3 separate regions of the Homo sapiens genome follow, and all the other regions are linked to region 3. Evidence: promoter capture Hi-C in 16 types of primary human blood cells and fetal thymus (Javierre and others, 2016). All regions are on one chromosome and are shown on one strand. Each heading gives the region's core, a stretch centred on a gene start or on the middle of the fragment in contact. The rest is flanking DNA. Distances are from core to core; before and after follow the strand shown. Region 1 overlaps LTN1 (listerin E3 ubiquitin protein ligase 1). Region 2 overlaps LTN1 (listerin E3 ubiquitin protein ligase 1). Region 3 holds the start of USP16 (ubiquitin specific peptidase 16).

The links. Contacts are between HindIII fragments. The CHiCAGO score rates a contact against its expected background, and 5 or more counts as called.
Region 1: a contact is called between a fragment that was not itself captured here and the fragment with the promoter of USP16 in region 3, in 2 of 17 cell types (fetal thymus and total CD8 T cells). The highest score is 5.3, in fetal thymus.
Region 2: a fragment that was not itself captured here is called in contact with the fragment with the promoter of USP16 in region 3 in 2 of 17 cell types (activated CD4 T cells and total CD8 T cells); the score reaches 6.5 in activated CD4 T cells.

The regions. Positions count from the first base shown.
Region 1 is chr21:28,936,611-28,940,345 of GRCh38, forward strand. It overlaps LTN1 (listerin E3 ubiquitin protein ligase 1), which reads right to left. Exons shown (of 30, transcript NM_015565.3): 26 at 1-87. Among named protein-coding and RNA genes, the nearest start is that of HEMK2, 53 kb to the left of the region's middle. The HindIII fragment of the contact is 3,093 bases long and covers 1-2,797 here.
Region 2 is chr21:28,952,552-28,955,784 of GRCh38, forward strand. LTN1 (listerin E3 ubiquitin protein ligase 1) reads right to left here. Exons shown (of 30, transcript NM_015565.3): 17 at 666-825. Among named protein-coding and RNA genes, the nearest start is that of LTN1, 39 kb to the right of the region's middle. The HindIII fragment of the contact is 1,992 bases long and covers 407-2,398 here.
Region 3 is chr21:29,022,473-29,025,919 of GRCh38, forward strand. It overlaps USP16 (ubiquitin specific peptidase 16), which reads left to right and starts at 2,196. Exons shown (of 18, transcript NM_006447.3): 1 at 2,196-2,305. RefSeq lists an enhancer at 2,072-2,461. The HindIII fragment of the contact is 4,939 bases long and covers 240-3,447 here.

The DNA.
Region 1 (3,735 bases), core at 1-2,500, 87 kb before region 3:
ATTTTCTGGCATAAGCCTGAACAGGTGATAGAGCAATTTATTCAAACTCTTTGTTTTCCGAAGATACATGGAATACAAAGCCCGAAGCTGGTGGAGAGCAAAGAATTTGTTAGTAAACCAAATACACCAAGACAATTGGTATAAAAGAACAACTCAAAGTGTAACAAATTTCCTTTCCTCATAAACTAGCAGACATTCTATCCCCTCATTATTGTAACACATTTCTAATATCTTTCTCAAATTGTCTTCCTGTATTACAATGCACTCACCTTGGCTTAGAATGTCTGAGACAAGAAAATCTATTCACCATTCCCACAGATGACTCCCTCACTCTCCTCCCAAGTCTTCCATACATTCCTTCCACACCATTGCCCTTAACCTTTCAAATTCCTGCTTAAAACTAATCCCATTTTTATGGCTGACCTCACCCTGTATCAAAAACTCCGACATCCCTTTACGACAGAGAGCACAAACTAGTGGTCCAAAATGTCATGGGGGTCTTCTCAGAGTTGTTTTTTCAATCAGGAAATTTCACATAAAAATATGGATTTCTGATTTCTCTTTTAAAAACAGAAAAACGAGCCACCAGTGGGAGCACTGCAGGTATCTGTGTGAGACCTGTACTTCACAACTCCTGCTTTCCCTCCATAAAGTAGCTTGCATTTTCCACATTGACTTTGCAGTTCTTTGGTATCTGTATTGGTTTTAAGATAATTTCTACTATATCACATATCTCCTCACAGTACAAAGATATCATTTTCTTTCCCTTTTCTTTTTAAAAAATTTGTATTTTTAATTTTTGTGGGTACACAGTAGATATTTATGGGGCATATGAGGTATTTTATAGGCATATAATATGTACTAGGGTAAGTGGGGTATTCATCACCTCAAGCATTTATCCTTTCTTTGTGTAAAATATAGCATTTTCTGAACACTATGAATACTTAAGTACAAGGATCAAGTCATAGGATTTGGAATTGATTTTTAAAATATGTTGACCAAAGTGCTCTTATCATCAAACTTAACATCACTAATGAAGGATGAACATCCCAAATCTGAAAATCCAAAATCCAAAATGCTCCATAATCTAAAACTTGTTGAGCACCAACATGATGCTTAAAGGAAATGCTCCTGGAGCATTTCAGATTTTCGGATCTGGGATGCTCAACCAGTAAGTGTAACAAAAATATTCCAGAATCTGAAAAAATCTGAAATCAGAAACACTACTGGTCCCAGGCATTTTGGATAAGGGATACTCAACCTGTAAAAGAACACAATGACATTATATGGCTCCTGAGGTAAGACACTGAGAACACATAACAACTTGTGCAGTAAGTACTATTGCTAAAAATTAACCACAATCTAATGAGGAAACGATCAGACAAATTCACATTGTATGACAGGCTAAAAACAGCTGGCCAAAACAATGACAAGAAAGAAAAGAAAGGTATAGAAATTATAGGTTAAAGAAACTAAAGAAATATGACAAGCAAATACAAACATGATTCTTGATTGGATCTTCAATAGAGAAGAAAATAAAACTATAGAGATATTACTGGGACAACTGAAAGTATCTAAATAAAAATTAGATATTATTGCATCAAAATTAAATTTCTTGAGTATAAAAATTATATTATGCTTATGTAGAAACATGTCCGTGATCTTAGGAGATATATGCTTAAATACTTTTGGTAAAGCATCAAAATATCTGCAACTTACTTTCAAGTAGATCAGCAGAAAAAAAGTAAATACAGAGAAAGTATGTGCAAATGTAGCAATATGTTAAAAGATGTATGTAACTTTTTTATCTAAAAGAGTATGTGATTTTCCATTGAATTATTCTTCCAACTTCATTGTTTAATTTTTCAAAACAAAAAGTTAGAGATTTTTAAAAAATTAATCACCAATATCAATGGACTTTTAAAAACACACATATACGACCCAGCAATCCCACTCCAAGGTATACAACACAAGTGAAAACATATTTCAACACAAAAGCTCGTACACGAATGTTCACAGCAGCTTTATTTTCAATAGCCAAAAAAAAGGAAACAACCTAAATGCCCATTAATGGATAAACAGATAGATAAACAAAATGTGATAGATCTACAAAATGGAGTATTATTCAGCCACAAAAATAAATGCAATACTTATGATACATGCTTCAATTTGATAATCTTGAAAATAATATACTAAAATAAAAGCCAGACACAAAAGACCAGATATGTGAAATGTCCAGAACAGGCAGATGCATAGAGACAGAACACAGTTTAATGGCTGTCAGGAGCTGCGGGGTTTGAGAGGAAATGGGAAGTGATTGCTATCAATTACAATGGGATGTTGAAAAGGTTCTAAAATTATATAGTGGTTAACAGTTGCACAACTCTGTGAATACAGTCAGCCCTCCACTTCCATGGGTTCCACATCTGAGAATTCAACCAATCGCAGATTGAAAACATTTGAGGGGCAAAAAAAGTGATTTAAAAAAACCAATACAACAATAAAAATACTAAAAACTTTAATACAGTATAGCAACTATTTCAATAGCATTTACACTGTATCAGTGATAACTAATCTAGAGATGATTTTAAGTAGTATACAGGAAGATGTGCATAGGTTAGATGCAGATACTATATGCCATTTTATATAAGGAACTTGAGTATTCGCTGGGGTGGGGGTCATGGGAGGGAGCCTGGAAACAATCCCCAGCAGATATCAAGGGATGACTATATACTAAAAACACCAAACTGTGTATGCTAAGTGGGTAAATTTTATGGTATGTGCAATATCTCAGTAAAGCTTTATAAAACAGACACAAAAACATACACATGTACATATACAACTTTTTCCAGTTCAATCTGATTTGCTAGTTTTTTTGAGAAAAAAGTTAACCCATGATTTAGGAACATTTAAAGTTTTCCGAAGAAAAATTCTGTTTATTTCAGGATTCATCTAATTAGTATTACTTAGTGGGTTATTCTGGTTTATCTGCCCACAGCTCAGTTCAAGTTTCAGACTCAATAATAATAAATGCTGCCGTATAATTTTGCACCCTAACCCAATCCCAGCTTAATGAAAAAGGTGACACATGGCCATTTTCCTAATTTCTGAATATAAAATGAGAACAAAACTCTTATACACAAATGCCTCAATCTGCTGCTATTTTTTAAAGATCAACAATATTTTAAGAAATTGATGTAAAAGCCAAATAAGGAGCTCTTGAAATATATCATCAGCAAATAAAACTAGCTTAAGTCACAAAAATAAGTGACAGGCCTAAAGAGAAAACTAATCTATTTAACAGCTAGATCAATGCTGCTTCTGTGATTTGACTTTTCCCCACAGATATACAAATGCAAAGATGCAAAAATTGATATCTTTGTACCAGGGTATAGGGTATGAGCAACAACATAAATTATAATTTAAAAATTCCAAAAAGTCACATTGGAAATGAATGCCATGAATACTTAATCACACTAAATGATAAACTAAATCTTTTTGTATTGACCTGTCAAAAGAAGGCACATATTTTATTAGGCTAATTCAATCAAAGATTGACAGAGATTTGGATCTTCCTTGTTCTTTTTGAGACAGGGTCTGGCTCTGTCGCCCAGGCTTGAGTGCAGTGGCATGATCTCAGCTCACTGCAACCTCCACTTCCCCGGCTCAAACTATCTTCAAGTGGGGATCCTTCTAACAGAAAAACTAGAGAGATCTTTCCAGTTTCTTCTTGGA
Region 2 (3,233 bases), core at 153-2,652, 71 kb before region 3:
GACCAGAGGCTGTAGCTGGGAAAAAGACATCTCCCAGAGGACACCTAGGCAGGCTTAAGTTGAACAATCAAAGAGGTTCTTTGGTTCTGAGGAAAGTTGTGTCAACTAAGTAGAATGCGATTGGAAAGGAAGCCTGGGTCCTCTGATACAGCAAAGCATACTCAAAATACTATCGGCAAGTGATAAACTCCTAAAAAGAAAGCAGTTCAATACAGTAATTTCAAAAAGCTAAACATCTTACTACTACAACCTCTACAAGGACTGTTTTCATACCTGCCTTCCTAATCTAGGGGAGAGGGCTTTGTGGTCATAACATTAAGACACACCTATAACAACATGTAAGATAAAGGATGAATCTGAGAGCACTGGGAGGATGAGTCACAGATAAATCAAAACAACTTCTACAAGCTTCTACTTCTTTTTTGTCATCTGACCCTTGTATGTATTTATGGATTTAATAAGACAGGCAGAATACAAATATCTTCCCCTGAGAAGGTTAAATCAAGTATTTAGAATTCATAAACTATTTATTATTAAGAATAGGAATTATTTAGATCAATCCTCTGACTGAAACATTAGCATGCAGTAGGGTTACCTCTTACAGAAGGCAAAGCCATAAAGAAGTAGCATAGTCATTTTAAAAACAAATTGAAAGAGATTCTTACCTGTTAAATAACAGCTGCAAAAGGCCCGACGTATTACCAAGTACACGTAAGTTATCATACGTAATATTCATTTTTTGAAGTATTTCACAAAATCCAATTAGAAAAATAGGTGGGTTATCTAATTCTTCACACCACTGCAGTGAATAAAGCAGTTCTGCAACTAAAAGAAGAGACAGCACCAAATTATGAAAAGCACTCTGTGAACAAACCCTTCAATTACTTTCACTTCTCCACCTTGTTTTCTAACACTGTTGTGCCCACTCATCTCAAAACTCCTATGAACTGATTTTTCAAATCTGCTTTGAGATGTTCAAGGACAATGAAAACTGAGAATATATGTCTGATACAAAATACCACCCTTTTCCCAAATTCTACTTGGTCCTTTTTCTAATTAGTTAAGAATGTGACAAGAACCTAAGTTACTAGAGATACTGAAAGAATCTTCCTACCATTTTGGCACAATTGGTAAAAAGTTCCAGACAGGAAAAACAACTAAGGGACCCAAGACCTGAGGTGAGAAGTTCATGGCAAATGGGAGAAATGGGAGACAGTATGATACAGTAAAAGGACATGAGGCCTCAATTACAGATTGGGGTGGATTCAAATCTGCATCTCTCTCTCAAGCTATATAAATAGTTATCAATTAGGATACTACGAACTACCTCACAGGACTGCTGTGATAATTAAATGGCCAAGTATCTATCATAAAGCCTGGTATATCATAGGTTTCTAATACACAGTCACAGCTCCCTTTTATAAAGCCATGTATAGCTTTTGGAGTCAGAAGCATTGTGACCTGGTTCAAAATCTAATCCTACACTTACCAGCTAAGCAGCTCTAATCAAGTCATGGTAACAAAAACAACAATAATATCTGACTAATGAGCTCGATAAAATTAAAGAAATAATATTGCCAATTTGTAATTAGTAACACAAAAAATTATTACTCTACTTACTAGTTTTGGATTTGCACAGATTCACCCTGTGAGCAATGTTAAACTACAGGCTTGTTTCCTTTCCCTTAACTAAATGTGAAGGTGGCTGCCCAAAAGAGGTGTTTCAACTTTCTTCCACAGAGCATATATTCCCCCTTCTAGTAACTGTGTTACAGCTGAGGGCTTACAAACAAGACTGATACAGGGTTTCTGCAAATTCTCTACCTTTAATACCATCTTGTAAAAGTCACTCCACCACCTATAATTCTAAACCATTTGTTGAAACAGGGAAATTTGCTGAGGCCCTAAGTCCTCTTAGGGTTCAACATTTGAACGTCCACTTGCCAGAAAAAAAATTAGAGCCCGATGAAATACAAAAGTATTCAAAACCATTGGAATCAAAACAGCATGGTATTTGTATAAAAACAGACACACACAGACCAATGGAACAGAACTAGAGAACCCAGAAATAAATCCACATATTTGCAGGCAATTGACAAAGTCTTCAACAAAAATGCCAAGAACATATATTGGGGAAAGGACATCCTCTTCAAGAAATTGTGCTAGGAAAACTGAATATTCATATGTAGAAAAGTGAAAACAGACCTCTATCTCTCACCATCTAAAAAGATCAACTCAAAATGGATTAGAGACTTAAACCTAAGAACTGAAACTATATAAAACAACTAGAAAGCATCAAGGAACGCTATAGGACATTGGTCTAGGCAAATATTTTTATGGCTAAGACTTCAAAAGCGAAGGCAACAAAAACAGGCAAATAGGACTATGTTAAACTAAAAGCTTTCTGCACAGCAAAAGAAACAATCAACAAAGTGAAGAGACAATCTGTAGAATGGGAGAAAATATTTGCAAACTATTCATCCAACAAGGGGCTAACATAAGGAATATATAAGGAACTCAAACAACTCAACGGCAAGAAAGGAAAAAAAAATCCCATGCTCAATATTAGTAATCATCAGGGAAATGCAAATCAAAACCCCAGTTAGAATGCCTCTTGTCAAAAAGGTAAGAAATAAGCTGGGAATGGTGGCACTGCTTGTAATCGCAGCACTTTGGGAGGCTGAGGCAAGAGGATTGCTTGAGCCCAGGATAAAGACCTGTCTGGGCAACATAGTAACACCCCATCTCTAAAAAAACAAAGACAAAAAATAACAAATGCTGGCAAGAATGCAGAGAAATAGGAACTTATATACTATTGGTAGGAATGCAAATTAGTACAGCCATTTTGGAAAACGATATGGAAGTATTTCAAAAAACTAAAAATAGAACTATCACACAATCCAGCAATCCCATTGAATATTTAGAAAACCAGTATATCAAAGGTATATCTGCACCCCTATATTTGCTGCAGCACTATTCACAATAGCTGAGATATGAAATCAACCTAAGTGTCCATCAGTGAATGAATGGATATATAAAATGTGGTACATATGCACAATGGAATACTATTCAGCCATTAAAAAAAGAATGAGGCCAGGCACGGTAGCTCACTTCTATAATCCCAGCACTTTGGGAGGCTGAGACGGGCGGATCACGAGGTCAGGAGTTCAAGACCAGCCTGGCCAACATAGTGAAACCCCGTCTCTACCAAAAATACAAAAATTAGCTGGGCA
Region 3 (3,447 bases), core at 946-3,445:
AGGAATTCAAGGTTACAGTGAACTATGACTGCACTTCAGCCTGGGCTACAAAGCCAGACCCTGTCTCTAAAATAAATAAATTAAAAATAAGGTGTGAACAGAATGACAATAAGATACCAACCCCGGAAGATCAGGGGGAAGAGGCTTTCTGACAGGAAGCACGTGGTACAATGACCCTAAGGCTCTGTTTTAAAATGCGTGGGGGCAAAAAGCCTGCATTTCTGGAGCTTGGAGAAGAAAGCTTTAAAAAATTATCTCATCCCACTCCTGTTCTTTTTTGCATGAGAGCTGGAGCCTATGCCCTACCACACATCCGTGGATATGCCCAGGATTTGACTTGGGCCTTCGAACTTTGCACAGTAGCTGCTACTAACTTTTTGAGATAATACATTCGTGGGGGCTCAGTCCTGCCTCATCTAAATCACCAGAGACCAAACAAGGACCAGCCCAATATCTCTTGGACTGTAATGTCATAATGTTGTCAGAATACAGAGAAAGATGAAACTAAGCCGGGTCCGGTGGCTTATGCCTGTAATCCAGCATTTTGGGAGGCCGAGGCAGGTGGATCACTTGAGGCCAGGAGTTCAAGACCAGCCTGGCCAATATGCTGAAACCCTGCCTCTACCAAAAAAATACAAAAGTTAGCTGTGTGGTGGGGTGGCACGTGCCTATAATCCCAGCCACTGGGGAGGGTGAGGTGGGAGAATCGGGAGGTGGAGGTTGCAGTGAGCTGAGGTCGTGCCACTGCACTCCAGCCTGGGTAACAGAGTGCAACCCGGTCTCAATAAATAAATAAATAAGTAAATAAAACAAAAATTATCTCAGCAGTAAAAAGCAAGAGAGCTAGTTTTCCCCCAAATTTAACCAAATGTTACTCTGGTGGTTAGTATGCCACCATCTTAAACTCCTTTTATCTGATTAGTAAGGATGGACATTTATTTTATGACCAATTGTTCTTTTATGGTGAATTACCTGTTTACATATCTATTTTTCTATAGCTATCTGCAACTCCCCCGACCCCCACGGTAGCGATTACTATCTTCTCTACTAAACTAAGACTCCAGGGCAGAGAGGCCTATGTTTAATTCATTTGAGGAAAGGCTTGGCACAAAGTGTGCACTTACATATTTTCTTTTTTTCTTTTTGAGAGGGAGTTTTGCTCTTGTTGCCCAGGCTGGAGTGCAATGGAGTGATCTTGGCTCATTGCAACCTCTGCCTCCAGACTTCAAGCGATTCTCCCCCTTAGCCTCCCGAATAGCTGGGATTACAGGCGCCCGCCACCACGACCGACTAATTTTTTGTATTTTTAGTAGAGACGGGATTTCACCACGTTGGCCAGGCTGGTCTCGAACTCCTGACCTCACGTGATCCACCCGCCTCGGCCTCCCAGTGTTGGGATTACAGGGGTGAGCCACCGCGCCAGGGCTCGCACTTACAAATTTTCAAAGAATGGACAGTAAATATTTGAAAATCCCCTCCTCCCCCGCAATTTATCTGACACCGTCTTTCGGTTTTGCTTTAAAAATTCACTCTCGCGGCCGGGCGCGGTGGCTCACGCCTGTAATCCCAGCACGTTGGGAGGCCGAGGCGGGCGCATCACAAGGTCAGGAGTTGGAGACCAGCCTGGCCAATTGGTGAAACCCCGTCTCTACTAAAAATACAAAAATTTTAGCTGGGCGTGGTGCCGTGCGCCTGTAGTCCCAGCTACTCGGGAGGCTGAGGCAGAAGAATGCACTCCAGCCTGGGCGACAGAGGGATATTCCGTCTCAAACAAACAAAAAATCACTCGCTGCGTTTTTTATTCTGACATGGTGCAGGAAGGTAAATTCAAGACAACTTAGGTACTCAGTTTTAGAAGTCGACAGGACAGAATTACGGAAACAAATTTAAGCGTTCCCCCTTTTAGCTCCAAATATAATGTGTTCCAGAAAGGTAACCATCTAGGAAACTCCAAGGCTCAGACCACCACCGGATGCCCACACTTCAGGAGCATTTATATAACTTCGTGGTTATGTCAGAGACGAGAAAACCCATTGACAACCAAACCCCTAAACCCGAACATCCGGCGCAAGCCGCACGCAGGCGCAGATTTACTAGCGTCAGAGCCGATGGTCCCGGGAGGTGGGGGTGGGGTGGTGGTGGCCTAGCCACTTCCCATAATGCCGCGTTCCGGAAGTTATTGCTTTCCAGGGGTCACTCTGGCTTCGACTCCGTCGCTCTCAATTCGTCACCAGGAGGAAGACGGAGCTGGCTGCCCAGCCCAAAGGCCCATGAGGGGATGCAGTTATGGGCTCTGTCGCCGTGGGTGAGTTCTGGTCCCACTGCCTGGCAGTCGTCGCTCGCCTGGCTTTCTGCGCTGGGAGAGCTCCTGTTTTCCGCCCCAACTTCGTTCTCTTCTTGAAGGCCGCTCTCCTTAAGCACGTAACCCGGCTACTTTCCGGTACTGCGATCTCATTGGCTGCATGTTCTGTCAGTTCCAGAAGCTGGCCAATGAGATGCCGCTGCTGGCGGCCTTCTCGACCCCGTGGACCCAGAGGTTCCCCCGTGGGATCGGAGCAGTTAGAAGGGGAGGAGAGGGAAGGTGTGGCAGGCGCCGAGCAAATGGGTGGGTGGCGCGTGGCAGGGACTTCCCTATGGGTTGGAGCTGGATTTGCAGCCGTGTTCATACGGCTGGTAGGAAAAGCAGGATCTGTCACTTATCCAATTGACTATATCTAGGAGGGGATTGATATACGCAAAACTTGAAAGCCACGTTAACACCTGCTGACAAAGTTTTCCACACGCTTACATTTTTAATGGAACCGAGTAGGCAGGGGAAGACTGGGAGGGCAGAGAGTGAAGAGACTTGGAATAATATGAGAACCGGCAAGACTATCTTTGATTTAGATTTTGTATGGAGTCCTGCGAAGAGTCATTTCACTAAGACGTTAATGCTCATCCGATGACACTACTTGAAAAGTGTATTAAGTTTATTGATGTTTTATAGCTGATGGAAGTCACAATATGCTCTCCTCATGACTCATTAGTTGCCTTTATAGTTGTCAGAACTTTACTGAGGCTCTTTCCGCAGCACTGGAGTGACCCCTCTGTCCTCTGCCTGCAGTAATTAACAATTCGTCTTTCAAGTTTTCCTATGGAGTCTAAGCTGCTGCAATCCTCAAACCAGATTTACTAGTGCTGTCTTCACTACTGCAGACTTCTGACTTCTCATTTTTCACCCTTTTCTTTTTCACCAGAACTTGTTTGCTTCATTCTTATGTACCTACCTTTGCACCTTGTAATCATCCTTTATGCCTCAGGTACTATTCTATTTTTCTATTTCAATGCAAGAAGTATTTCTTCAGGACCTGCTATGTACTAACATTATGCTAGATATTATAGGCAGTTCCAAAACTGTGCTTGAAACCATTTATTTTTCTAAGAACTTTAGATTCTGCTTACAGAAAT